2 separate regions of the Homo sapiens genome follow, and region 2 is linked to region 1. The links are contacts of gene promoters, found by promoter capture Hi-C in blood cells and fetal thymus (Javierre and others, 2016). All regions are on one chromosome and are shown on one strand. The core of a region is centred on a gene start or on the middle of the fragment in contact, and the rest is flanking DNA. Distances in the headings are between cores, read along the strand shown.

The links. Contacts are between HindIII fragments. The CHiCAGO score rates a contact against its expected background, and 5 or more counts as called.
Region 2: a contact is called between a fragment that was not itself captured here and the fragment with the promoter of SLC6A18 in region 1, in 1 of 17 cell types (neutrophils). The highest score is 5.3, in neutrophils.

What each region holds. Positions count from the first base shown.
Region 1 is chr5:1,222,776-1,230,007 of GRCh38, forward strand. SLC6A18 (solute carrier family 6 member 18) reads left to right here and starts at 2,606. Exons shown (of 12, transcript NM_182632.3): 1 at 2,606-2,862. The coding sequence starts at 2,703. It overlaps SLC6A19 (solute carrier family 6 member 19), which reads left to right. Exons shown (of 12, transcript NM_001003841.3): 12 at 1-2,336. RefSeq lists an enhancer at 3,000-3,542. The HindIII fragment of the contact is 4,471 bases long and covers 652-5,122 here.
Region 2 is chr5:1,755,904-1,763,135 of GRCh38, forward strand. No RefSeq gene overlaps it. Among named protein-coding and RNA genes, the nearest start is that of MRPL36, 40 kb to the right of the region's middle. The HindIII fragment of the contact is 3,721 bases long and covers 3,111-6,831 here.

The sequences.
Region 1 (7,232 bases), core at 1,356-3,855:
GCCCTCTGTGTTTGTCCTTGCCACAGTCACGGGGTGCATGTGCAGAGGGGAGCAGACCACTGGGGACGTGCTGTGCCCTGCACGTGCCCGGGGGAAGCGGAAGCTGCAGCTGGGGTGGGGGCAGCACCTCTATGCTTCATCTCTGTGGGTGGCAGGAGACAAAAGCACAGGGTACTATCTTGGCTCCTGGGAGCGACTCTTGCTACCCACCCCCACCCATCCCCTTCCCCTTGGTGTTGACCTTTGACCTGGGGGTTCCCAGAGCCCTGTAGCCCTCGACCCGGAGCAGCCTCTCGGAAGCCGGAGTGGGCAGTTGCTGGCGATTCTGAGAAAACTTGGCCGCATCCACCGGGGCCCTGCCTCCAGTCGGCCGCTGCCGAGTCTCTGCGTTCTGGCCGCTTCCCGGCTTAATGAATGCCAGCCATTTAATCATTGCTCCTGCCACCACAAATAGATGAGCAGTTAAATAAAACTCAACTTGGCATAATTCAAGGCAAATACCACTCTGTGCATTTTCTTAAGAGGACATGAGCTGTGTGAATTTTTAGCCAGCCTTTGGAAAAGATGGGTTACAGGGTAACTCAACCCTGGCTGCCATCCTTGGGCACTGTGTGTGTCCAGGGCACCTTGGAGGACCGTGCAGCCCCCAGAAGCTTCCAGCTCCCGCACCACTCAGTGAAGCCCAGCCTGGCGCCTGCCCTGCCCCCGTCACGGGATGGGCCCCCATTGGGGTTCAACATTCCATCGCAGCCAAAGGCAGTCGGCACTTGGGACATCTGCTTCCACGGACAGGTCACCTCCGCTTTGCACGGAAGAATCTGGATGCTTACATTAAACTGGTGTTCTGAGAGTTCCTACGGACAGGTCACCTCCGCTTTGCATGGAAGAATCTGGATGCTTACATTAAACTGGTGTTCTGAGAGTTCCTACGGACAGGTCACCTCTGCTTTCCATAGAAGAATCTGGACGCTTACATTAAACTGATGTTCTGAGAATTCCTACAGGCAGGACTGAAAGCCTGGTGTGTGCCAGTATGATGTTCCACCCACAGAAACCTGGTCACAATCGTCCCTTCCAGCACCCCATCCAGCAGTGACTGCACACACTGAGTCCCCTACCAGCCCCTTTCACCCTGCTGACTGTCACTGGGCCCTGGGATGCGCAAGACTCCACAGCAGCAGAGGTGGGGGGACATATCACAGCCTCTGCCCCCGGCTGTGATGCCACCGAGGGGCTCGCCTGCTGATGGCTTCAACAGGGTCTCACCTCATCTTTTCCTGCTCTTTGGCCCTGGATCGAGAAAATTTCCATCAGTGCCCCATTAATATGCTGCCCTGTGGCATCTGCCCAGGAGGCCCTGCCAGGCGTGCACAGGTGTGCATTGGTGTACCCTGGCATGCACAGGTGTGCACTGATGTGCCCTGGCATCCATTGGTGTACCCTGGTGTGCCTGCCATAGGACCCTGGGCGGGAGCTCCCATCTCATCTACATCTCCTGATTCATGCGTTGTTTCATAGGTTTCAATGTCTCTGTAAATGTGGTAGAAATGCAGGCTTTATGGGCATAAAGTGTACATTTCTAAATAAATCCCTTCTATTGAGTATGCTCACCCTAGAAGTTACTGTTGTCCAGACGTAGAGGGATGAGTGAGCCAGTGACCTCAGACGGGATGGTGGGGACGGCAGGTCCAGCTCCTGCCTCCTCCTGGGGGGTCTGGCTTTGGGGGCTTGCTCCGAAGAGGCCATGGCCCAGGCCTGTGGCCTCACAATGGGGACCAACCAGCTCTTCTCATCTTCTTCCCTCACACTTCCTCTCACTCAAATAAGAACCTTCCAAAAATGTGTCCACCTGGGCCCCTGCCCTGGGACTCATGGATTTGGAGTTGTGGCCACACGGTTGAGGGGTGCAGTGTCCAGTGGAATGGGGCAATTGCGGGCCTGGGGGCCCTTGGCCTGTCCGTGGCGGGAGCATCTGCAAGGAGGAGCCCCAGAGTCCAGGGAGCACTGTGGGGAGCTCCTTAGAGCTGAACTCACCCGGCGTCAACTCATCAACCCTCCACCCATGGACAGGGGTGCCCCCAGCACAGGAGAGGACTCAGCCCTCTGCCCCCACGCACGGTGGGTGCCTGTCACCCTGTCCTGCCCAGCGGCCCGAGGGCAGCAGTGGGTGTGAGGGCAGCCCCCGGCCTCCCAAGAGCAGCTGAGAGGATCCCTGCGGGAATCCGGGCTTCGGGTGCATGCGATCTGATCTGAGTTGTTTCTGACAGTGACAGAGTGACAATCTATAAGTATCTCAAGATCAAATGGTTAAATAAAACATAAGAAATTTAAAACGATTAAAATATGCCTCAGTCTTGGGAATCCTGGTGTCTGCAACAAAAAAACTTGAGGCTGTCCTTGCAAACGGTCCTCATGGTGCTGGGGGTGGTGCCAGGCCCGGCGTTTGCCTGGAACACAGAGCATGCGAGAAGGAGCAGAGGACGTGGGTGCCAGGGAAGGACCCTGGCGTCAGAGCCAGGGCCTGGACCTGAGTTACCCATTAACGGCACTCCACTGGTTTTCCTTTAAAGAAATGAATAAATACAACTGCAGTGGGGCTGCTTGTGGTTTCCAAACGTCGGCAGAGGCTGGAGACGGCTCTCTAGTGCTGGGTGTGGAGTGAGGCACCACCCTTGCCCTGAAGCCTGGGGCACTCAGTCACCATGGCTCATGCCCCAGAACCGGACCCGGCCGCCTGCGACCTCGGGGATGAGAGGCCCAAGTGGGACAACAAGGCCCAGTACCTCCTGAGCTGCACTGGGTTTGCCGTGGGACTGGGGAACATTTGGCGGTTCCCATACCTGTGCCAGACCTATGGAGGAGGTAAGCACCCACCTGCGTCCTGGGGCAGACCCCTAAGCAGGGGAGGCCGTCTCCACCCTGACCTGCCAGGCGCCTGCCACGCATCCCCAGTGCTTGGGCAGAGTCACTCCTCCTGGAAACCAGGGTGCACCATTGCCCACGGCAGAGTCAGTCCCCTCAGGGCCCACCTGCAGTCTTCTGGGACCTCAGGGCAGCTTCACCACTGCCCACAGCACGGAGGATCCAGTCCCCTCGGGGTCCACTATGGTCTTCCGGGACCTCAGGGCAGCTTCCTGCCAGGCGTCAGGTTGAATGGGCCGCCCTGCCCGACACACACACCCTACAAACAGTGAGCGCTCTTCCATCTGAATGTCGTCAGTTCTTTAAAGAACACACAATCCGCTCTGGGTTTCCTCACCACAGCCTTGGTGTGTCCAGACATGTGCTCAGGTGCCCTTCTCCGAGGTTCTTTGCAGGAATTTGGGGGCCCACCCCTCGCCTCCCTGGCTTTGGTTCTCTGGGAGAGCCCTGTGGGGGGTGCCAGGATGTTCAGAACTGTCTGGGTGACTTTAGTGACCTTGGACTCACCACCCCCAGAAGTGCATTGGTGACTGAAATAGGCTCCCACGCACCTCGAGCCTCCCCTCACCCTGTGCCTGCTTCTCTTCATGCAGGGGTCACACTCTGCTCTCCATGTGGCGACACAGGATGTAGGGACAGGCATGAATCACTGCTCTCAGGGAGCCGACGTACAACATCACGCATGGACACCCAGGTCTTCCCCAGGCAACACGGGCAGGGGCTTCCCAGGCCGCAGGGTCCTCCTCAGGCCAGGCCGGGCTGCTTGGTCAGCCTGTTCCCCGGGCCCTCAGCTCCTTCCCTGAGAGCCCCGCACAACTATCCCTTGTTATAAGGTTACTCCTTTAAAGTGTTTTTCCTCCTGCTTAAGAAAAGATTCTCAACAGGCAGAAAATGCAGGAAATGCGCACAAATGGAAAAAACAAAAAGAAACACCCGTCACTGCCACCCTCGGGGCACTGGGGTCTCTTTGGGGCTTTGGGGCTGGAGAGGGTGCATTGGGCCTTGGATCTTCTCATCATGAGAGTCCCTTTGAAGGCATTTCTGAAAGCACCAAAGCCCAAGGGCAGAGGCGTCCCTGGCTCCCGGGGCCCTCGCTGCCTGTGCTGCGGCTCGATCTGCTAAGAGTCACCAGAGCATGCAAGGTTGTGGGGGCAGCAGGCTTCACGCAGAGCTGGAAATGCCGGCCAACGCTTTACCCACCAACGCCTTGTTCGCCAATGCCTTGCCCACCGATGCCTTTCCTGCTGATGCCTTGCCCAACGCCTTGCCCACCGACGCCTTGCCCACCGATGCCTTGCCCACCGATGCCTTGCCCGCCGACGCGCCCAACGCCTTGCCCGCCGACGCCTTGCCCGCCGACACCTTGCCCGCCGACCCCTTGCCCGCCGACGCCTTGCCCGCCGACGCCTTGCCCGCCGACGCCTTGCCCGTCGATGCCTTGCCCGCCGATGACTTGCCCGCCGATGCCTTGCCCGCCGATGCCTTGCCCACCGAAACCCAGTTACCATTGCTAAGCGCCTGCAGTGTACTGGAAGTGTCTGGCACTAGCCTCCCTTAAACTCAGCTGCTCCACGCTGGGGCAAAGCTGGGGAGGCCCCCACCTGGGGTGCTGCTGAGGAGGGAGAACAGCCCTGCCCGCCAGCTGCGCGGGGACTTCAGGGCTGCTCCACTCATGAACGACTCTACCATCAATCTCCTGATGCAAGCCACCGGGTTGCATGTCATGAAACATCCAAGTTTATTTAACTCACACACTTCCTAAGGGCCGTGCCATCAGCATTCTCACCCTGTGTGTGAACATGCCCTTCACTTTGTCTCGCTGTGAGGATCACTCATTGATGATTTTGAAAACAAGATATAATTAAGAAGCAGGTACTGTGTAGCTTTTAACATTTGCATATACTCATGACTACCAAAGGCGAATATTATTTGCTCTCCCATTCATAAGTATTCAACTACATAAATGTTCTCTTCAAAGCTAAGACTTGTAAAGCAACATTGTAACAGAATGTAGCAAAACGTTGCGGTAAAGATTTACAGTGATTTTCTCACACCTATGACATTTCATGGCAGCTGCTTTATTACACATTCAGCGTCTTTAAATCAAAGGAACGTAGACTCGTAAATGCCAAGCGATGGGTTCAGGCCAGCTGCCCGGGACACTCTAACACTTGCTGTGGTTTAAGGTTTCAACCCAGGAAGCTTTTATGACTAAGCTGGTGGCCCTGGGCTGGCTGTGTCCACACACGTGAGGTCACTCATCAAGCGCGCCCCCTCCCCGCTACTTCCTGCCTCCGGTGTTCAACCGACTTCTGTATCTGGTAGGTGCTGTTGAGATCTGTGGATTCTTGCACCAAAAACGACACTGTATTAATTACTATGGCTTCTTCGTTAGTCTCGACGCCTAGTAGTAGAGCAAGGCCTTTTTTTTTTATTCTTTGAACTTTTGCCAGCTGCTACTTTTCCTCTGAGCTTTACACCAGGTTGTCAATTTCCAGAAGAGATTCTTCGGCGCTCCCTTGGCCCTGTGCTGCTTTCTACACTGCCCGGGGGGAGTTTCCACCTTGACGGCCTTCACGCCTTGGAGGCAGTGCCCAGGCAGTGGGGGCTGGCACTGGAGCACCATCTGCCGTCTGCACCCTCGCGGCTCCCGGCTCGGTCTCCTTTCTGCCTTCCTGCGGGTCTCTCCATCATGACCCTGGGCGTGTCTCTGGTTGATTCTCAGCAATCCCTGGCTTTTGCCGCTGCTCTGAGCAGAGCCTGCTTCTCCTCTGCATTTGCTCAGTGGCTGCACTGCGGCCTCTGCATCTCTCAGCCTCGTGTGGTGGGGTGCAGGTTTCTCTCGATCCTGCGTGGATCGATTGTAACAGCAGCCAGCCGTTCACAGCCACCTTTCCCGTCTTCGGCAGACACCACTGCGTCCTCCATGCTTATGAACGACTGCTAAACTTCACGTAATTGTTAAAACTAGGAGCTGCAGCCTGGGCAACATGGCAAAACCCTGTCTCCATAAAAAATATAAAAATTAGCCGGGCGTGCTGGCGTCTACTTGTAGCCCTGGCTACCCAGGAGGCTGAGGTGGAAGGATGGCGTGAGCCTGGGAGGTCGAGGCTGGAGTGAGCCATGACTGTGCCACTGTACTCCAGCCTGGATGACAGAGAAAGATGCTGTCTCAAAACAAACACCCAAAAAGGAGTTGTGTAGACATTCTTACCATGTGGAATCAACGCTTCTTCTTCCTTCAAATTCGGAAAAAATGCATGGACTGACTGTCTCTTCCTGCGCATTCAACGTAAAGACTGCCCAGTGAGACCCGTGCCCACGCAGGCCGGGGAAAGTGCCCTCCGTGCTGGACTTGGGTTGGCCAACAGAGCCACCACCCCCAACCACAACACTCTGGTTGATTTTTTATCTACATTTATGCCCACGTGGCAGTCTACATACGGCTTTAATGCAGCCGCTGTACCACAGAGTCGACGTTCCTGTTTCGTGAAGATCCCAGCTGTGGCCACGATCTCGTATTCACAGAAAACCCTCTCATCTCCTCTCCCCTAAACACAGAAACCCTCAATTCACAGAAAACCCTCTCATCTCCTCTCCCCTAAACACAGAAACCCTCAATTCACAGAAAACCCTCTCATCTCCTCTCCCCTAAATACAGCAGATTCAGCTTCCCCAAATCAGTCACAGAGAGCTCACTTCTCCCCAAATCTTTCCCTTCGATGATCTTGTCAGGGTGGTCTCTGACAAACTGACCTCAGCCTGGTCACCTGAGGCCCCAGCCCAGGCTCAATGGCCCTCACCACAGAGCAAGGGTCAATGGGGCCCAGGGCACCTGCTGGCCTGGAGTCTGCAGTGCTCCCTGGACAGTGGATCCCATATCTGGAACCCGGAGCCCCTGCCCACCGCGACGTGGTGCCCACGCCACCCACATCTGTCCTCCACCCGGCCACTGTGCACCTGAGGCCTGAGTGTGGCCACGAAGCCACTACTGCGGGATGGGTGGCTGGTCACACACCAGCCTTGAGACCTCAGGTGCAGGCTGGAGGTCGGGGGGAAGAAGGCCTCCACGGTGCAGGCTGGGGGTGGGGGGAAGTGATGTTTTCACAGTGCAGGCTGAACAGGGGAAAGGTAAGAGGGGCTCTCACGGTACAGGCTGGAGATGGGGGAGGGGAGAGGGGCTCTCACAGCGCAGGCTAAAGGGAAGGGAAGGGAAGAAGGGCTCTCAGGTGCAGGCTGGAGGGGAGGGAAGAAGGGCTGTCACGGTGCAGGCTGGAGGGGAGGGAAGAAGGGCTATCATGGTGCAGGCT
Region 2 (7,232 bases), core at 3,721-6,220, 540 kb after region 1:
TACTTTTCCCCTAGCCACCGGCCCCCGCCCCCCTGAGCAATCGCTGGATAAATCACATTCACTTTTAATTTAGCAGACAAGGCCAGATAAGATTCTCAAAAGATCATTTCAGTATGCACTTCTGCCAGAAACGTGAACTAATTCCCCGCACCCTCAGCAGCTCCAGAGGTGCGGAGTTTTGATGTTTGCTGTTCCAAAGCGGAGAAGCAGGCTCTGCTGTTGCCAGAGTTCGCATTTCCCTAACCCCGCACTGTGCCTCATTTTAAATTCTTATTAGTTGTCCGTAGATCGTCTTTGGCACATGGCTAGTTCCTGTTCTTTGCTATTTTTCCCATTGCATTGCTTGACTTTTTCTCAACATGAAGTAAGAGAATTTGGTCTATGAAGGACGCTAACCCTTTATCATATGAACTGCAGACATTTTTCTCAGTCTATCACTTGTTAGATTGCTATAATTTGTACTTGCCATGTAAAAATACCTAATTTGATACTGTAAAATATATTTAACTTTTCTTTAAGGTTTTGGGTTTTCTGTTCTGGTTAAGGGAAGATCTCCCAACTTCCAGGTTACAAAAGTAGCATTTCAAAACTTCTTTCTAATATTTTGTTGTTCTATTTGTAGCATACTTAAGCTTTCGTGCTGTTACATCTTTTTTCTTTCTAAAGTAGAGGCCTACGTTTGTTTCCGTTCAGCCGGAAGACGCCTCAGTGCTCAGGCAGCCCATCGCCTTCCTCTACAATGTTTAATTTGCATTTCGTGCCTTGGGTCTTAGATCCCAAGTCACTTCCTCAGAGCTTTGAATGCCCAACTTAATTAGCTCCTTTTCCTGCTTGATCCAAATCAAACTGGAAGACCGAGTAAGTGCATACGGTTCCTTTCCACTCAACATTTCTCCAAATGTGAGAAAATATAAGTTAAAAATAATAAATCCTGGCCGGGCGCAGTGGCTCATTCCTGTAATCCCAGCACTTTGGGAGGCCAAGGCAGGCAGATTGCCTGAGCTCAGGAGATCGCGACCAGCCTGGGCAACATGGTGAAACCCTGTCTCTATTAAAATACAAAAAATTAGCCTTGCGTGGTGTTGTGTGCCTGTAATCCCAGCTACTCGGGAGGCTGAGGCAGGAGAATTGCTTGAACCCGGGAGGCAGAGGTTGCAGTGAGCTGAGATGATGCCATTGCACTCCAGCCTGGGCGACAGAATGAGACTCCATCTCAAATAATAATAATAATAATAATAATAATAAATCCTTAGGAACATTGGAAATCAGTGTCCAGGAGTTGTGACACATTCGTGAGAAATGAAGACAGAATCCGACTGAGCTGAAGAGAGAAGACTGCAGCCCAAAATATGGGAGAAAGAAGCCCCGGGGAAGGTTGAAGCCAATCAGGAGACTGGAGGCGCGCTGGAAGAACGGAGCCAATCGAAGCCCAGTTCCCATCGCGAGCAATGAGACGGGGTGTTTCCACCAGGCAGAAGCGGGGAAATGCTGTCCAGAGCTCACCACCTGTCTCCAGAAGACCATGGGGTGAGCAGAGGGGCTCAGGGAGAAAGAGCTGCGTGGAGTTCCTGAAACACTTACTAGAGACTCAGAGGCAATTAAATGTACGGATGGGTAGCAAAGCTGGTAGTCCCCAGGAGGGGAGGAAATGGAAGCTCCACTGCAAGGTTCAGCTCTCACTGTGGCTGAGCCCGAAGCTACGGGACCCCTGCCTGGCCCCTGCCCAGCTGCCCCGGGTCCAGCCTCTCCTGGCTAACTGGCCCATGCCAGCAGTCTCTTCTGGTCCAGAGTCACAAGAGGTTAGTAAAGTAGATCCACATAAATGCAGATGCCACAGCAGCCAGGGCGGCCGATCGACTTAGTCCTGTGTTCCACAGCGTAAGCATCAGGGCCTCCAAATACTTGGATCAGCCCCACCCCCCGGCACACATGAGAAGCAACGGGGTAAGCAAGCACAGCAGATGGCTCTGGGAAACAGAAGTGATATGGAGACCCAGAAACATTATTGCAAATTTTTTTTTTTTTGAGACGGAGTCTCGCTCTTTCACCCAGGCTGGAGTGCAGTGGTGCGATCTCGGTTCACTGCAACCTCTGCCTCCTGGGTTCAAGCGATTCTCCTGCCTCAGCCTCCCGAGTAGCTGGGACTATGGGCACGTCCCACCACGCCCAGCTAAGTTTTTTTTTTTTTTGTATTTTTAGTAGAGACAGGGTTTCACCATGTTGGCCAGGCTGGTCTCGATCTCCTGACCTCGTGATCCACCCACCTCTGCCTCCCAAAGTGCTGGGATTACAGGTGTGAGCCACCATGCCCAGCCCATTATTGCAAAATGTTAATTCGTATCAGAAGTGATATCCAAGAGTCTAATGCATTCATAAGATTAAACAGATGGGCCCCTCCAAAAACAAAGATGAAAATACTATCAGAAATTAAAAATCTGAACATCTCCAGCAAAAAATGCAAGAACAAGTCAAGTCAGCAGCATGAACATGGCTGAAGTCCAGATTAATGAACTGGAAGTTATGATCAAAGAAATCTCTCAGAATGCAGAGAGATAAGTAGACACTGATGTTCACTGTGTGTGTTTTACCACAATAAAGAAAATTCAGAGGAGATGACACTTACATGCAATCCAGGGTATCCAGTGTTTCTCTAGGATTTCCAGGAAAGAAAACAGAAAATTCTAGGAAGAATAACAGAGAATTAATAAAAGATCTCAGAGCTGATACGATACAAAGCACTGGCTTTGACTCAACAGGGGTAAAGGGGTTAAACGACACAATCAGGCCAGTCCCAGACCAGTAAGCTCTGAGTCTCTATTCTACCTGAGACTGAGAACACCAAAGACAAGAGAAAGCATTGCCATCTTCCAGAGAGAACAGACAGCTTACCTAGAAAGGAAGAAAACCACACATACATCAGACCCTCCTCATTGTGACACTGGGTACCAGGAAGAACAGTGAGCCTGTCCAGGGGCAATTTCGGTATCCATTAAAATTAAATCAGTCTCATCTTTTCCTGTTTTATTTCTAGGTAACTTCCTTAGAAATATACTTGCAAATGGACAAAAAAAAAAAAAAAAAAGAGAGAGATCTACAAGGCTGCTGTTTGAAGCTTTGTTTATGTGAGACAAAAACTAGCACACACATGGCTGTGAACAGGGAAAGTTACATCAGGTTTGCTGGGTTTGTACAATGGAGGGCCAGGCAGCCGTTTAAAAGAACAAAGTAGAACTGCACACACTGCTGGGGCGGGATCGTCATGACAGCCAATGAGCTACAGAGAAGTCAGGTCCCATCTAAAATATATTTTTACAAATATATTAATATTAATAAATATACTTAAATATATCCAAAATTTATATATATGTATATATACACACATATATGTGTATATATATATATATATATATATTTTTTTTTTTTTTTTTTTGAGACAAGGTCTCATTCTGCCACCTAGGCTAGAGTGCAGTGGTGTGATCTCGGCTCACTGCAACCTCCACCTCCCTGGTTCAAGCAATTCTCATGCTTCAGCCACCCAAGTAGCTGGGATTACAGGTGCCCTTCGATGCTTACTAAGGTCCCCTGTGGAGGTTTTGGGAAACGTCCTGCTGGTCTGAATTCTGCACACACTGAATGCTCAGGATGCCAGGGAGCCTGGTGGATGGGATTGGATGGGGCTTGAGGCAGGTGTTTGCTAACTCCAAGGGTTCCAAGGGTGGTCTCCCAAGCAAGTCCCATCAGGCCCTGTGACAAAGGCCCTGTGACAAAGCCTCAGTGGGCAGGAAGGGGCGGCCCCCTCTACTGTGGGGCTGGGGAGTGACCACCTGCTTTTGTAGATGGAATCACCTTGAGAGGTGGCCACACTCATCGTTCACTCATCGTCTGAGGCTGCGTTTGAACAAGAGCAGAGCTGAGCAGTGGAGACAGAGACTGTGTGGTCTGCGAGGTGGAAAGTACTTGCTCTCTGACCGTTTAGGAACAGGCCTGCTCGCCTGCCCAGGGCATCTGTGTCCTGTGGAAGCTACAGGTCACCTCCAACTCACGCCTCGGGTGCCGAGAGTCTCAGGGAGGAGCCTCCAGGACCCCAGGAGTGGAAACTTTTGCAAAGAAAAGTAACTTTATATTTCTATAAAAAGGATTATACAATATGATTTAATTATTCCAAGCCCGTGGTAAAGCCCACATTCTCAACACATTCTCCTGCTGCTGTCAGCCCATTCCAATGAGAGGGTGTTTATTTTGACAAATGCAGTGTCTTACTGAGAACTGTTAAAAATTAATATTAAGTTTAAATCTGAAAAGTGATTATTGCACGTGACTAGTAAATTCCACACTATTTGAACTCTTTAAGAGTCTCCTTTCTTTCCAAATACATTTTGCATCCAAAATGTGAACACAGTGTTAAGTCTTTACAAAATGGTTTAAAAAATATTGTTTTAAAAAGTCCATTCTTGCTTAGAGTTTGGCAGCAGAGCAAAATGAAATCCCATCCAAATGAAATGTTTTACCATGTTCAGTTCCATAATGAAAAGCTGGCAAAGTCAATGGGATGGGGAGGGGGTGGCAATCACATTTGGTTTAATTTATAACAAGAAATCCAATCCAACGCATTTTTAAATTCAGGAAATACTAAAATGCAGACTGTGAAGGCCAACTCCATGTGGAGTGCGCAGCCCATAATAGTCGGCTGATTTAAAACCTGACCAATATGAACTACCCAACTAACGAGACTTGAAAAACCAGTACAATTAATTAATAAAAGTAAATGTAATAGTTAGAAATGTACTGAAACAAAAAGGGAGCACTAAAAGTAAGTATTCTCAACAAGCTGCAAACGCGGTCCTCAGCAGGGCACACCCCGCTGGAGGCCCCTGAGTCCTCAGGGAGAAGGGCTGTGGCCTCCCGACAGGGACCCTGGCAGCCTCATGGGGGAGGATTTTGTTCATCGGTCCCCTTGCTCTCCCATTGTTTGCAAGCGAGGACTGAAGGAGAAATCCTCGTGACTTCTGTGGCCCAGGTTAGAGTTACACAGACTCACTGTGCTGAGACCGGAAAACCTGCTCTTTCCCTATAGGTTTCAACCACGCTCCTCCGACTGGGGTCTGGGTGAGGAGCGCCGGGCCAGGCCCCGGGGCGGGGAGAGGGGTTTGTGCTGCTGTCTCGGCTCAGGATCCAGCAGTGCCTCTGGGGCAGGTCCTGAGTTCCCAGATCCCGTCGGGGCTCTCCCAGGCAGCATGGACCCTGTGGTTCTGCACGTCACAGACTCTTTGGGGGCGTCCACAGCCCTTTGCGCTTGAGGCTGGTCTGATAGGCTTGGCAAGGGCAGGATCACACCGAGTTCACGCGGCAGCCCCAGTCACCTGGTTGCTCCATCTACAGACTTGATAACCGAGGGCCGGGTGGTCTCCTCCCAGGTTATCTGCTCGAGCCCCAGGCAATATCATGTGGCTCACTGCTCATGGTGTGGTCCCTGGGTGGCCACGTCTCTTCACCTGGAACCCGCCAAATCAGCCCATGCATTTCAACAAGGTCCACCTTCCACATCTGAAGCTCCCCCTCAGACTCCCCCGCTGGCTTCTTCTGCACCAGCCCTCGGAGGCAGTCGCTCCCAACCCCCAAAGCCTCCTGTGCACCCTGTGACCCTCAGAGTCAGAAACACCTCTCCACGTGGTGACCACTGCCCGACTCCCACCTGCCCACTGCACCTGCCATCCGTTTGTCTCGCCGGCCATGCAGGCGGAGCTCAAAGTCTCCCCCATCGCCTGCTCTCCTGGAGGGGCACCTGGCCACAGCTGTGGTCACTTGTGTTCTCACAGTCGTCTTAGGTTCCAGAGGCAATGGCTTTTAGTGTCAGAACCCATCAGATTAAGGAATGAGGTGTATTAGATATTTTTAAAAATTAACACTGTTTTATTTTTTCTCAGCATAACATTTAAATGATCTAGAAGTTTACCAAGTAAAAGTGAGAGCCAATCCTCACACCCTCCGGCAAATCACCAGGTTCCCCAGAAGTGGCCTCCGGTAGCTCTTCTGTGTGCACTTTTTTTTTTTTTTGAGATAGAGTCTCCCTGTGTTGCCCAGACTGGAGTGCAGTGGCACGGTCTTGGCCCACTGCAACCTCCGCCTCCTGGGTTCAAGTGATTTCAGCTAACTTTTGTATTTTTAGTGGAGACAGGGTTTCACCATGTTGGCCAGGCTGGTCTCGAACTCCTGACCTCAGCTGATCCGCCTATCTCGGCCTCCCACTGTGCTAGGCTGACAGGCATGAGCCCCCGCACTCGGCCCCTGTGTGCATCTCCGTGTGTATGTGCTTGTGCAGGTGAAAATCTCTTTTTAAGTATGAATGGGATCTGACTGTTCTGTAGCTCACGTGTTTACCCTCTCAACACGCCTCCCACAGCAGCATGCACAGTTGTTTTGTCCTTTTAAATGGCTGCCTGACCCGCCATCGTATGGACTCAGCAACATTGGTGGAGCTTTCTCTATTCACGGCCAGGGTTCGGCACAGCAGTCGAGGGGAGCTGGAGCCACTGCGCTGAGTGGAGGAGGCAGAGGCAGAGGCAGGGGTGTTGCTGAAGCCCAGGGGTCCCTGTCGGAGGCTGGACACAGGCAGAGCTGGCTCTGCTGGTGACAGTGGCTCCTGTGTAGAGGTCTGTCCCCGCAGAGGGCCGTGAACTAAGGGGAGGAGAGGACTGGCCTCGTGTGTATTTTCCAAGCAACCTTCTCCCAGTCAGGATGTGTAAAAGCAATGCCCGGTTTCCTTACCCGTTCACCACACCGATCATCTCCGCATGGCAGATGGTGTGTGCAGCCGACTGTCAGCTCTGCCCAAGCTTTCGTGACTGCCCCCCACTCCTGACAGTCAGCACGTAGCATGGAGGGGCACAGATTTCCAACTGACCAGCTTCCCTATCAGGGAGATGGGCTCTGATCCGGGATTTGGCTGGGCCCAGGGAAAGGAAATGGGAGTGGTCACAAACCAGGGTCACACCCTGGCCTGGCAAGGTCGGCAAAGCCAGCCAGTGACCGTGCCCAAAAGATGAGGACAGTTTAAGTCTCAAATATAGACTTGAAGTCAGAGATTTTCAGCCCTAGGTGTGGCTGCCTCCCTCCTCTCCCTGGAAGCCACACTGAGGACCCCACACTGAGGACCCCACAGGGACCCTCAGGAAGCACCTGCTGGGTTTGGGGTTTCCTCCTGCAGCAAAACGTCCCCCCAGATTCGGAGAGGG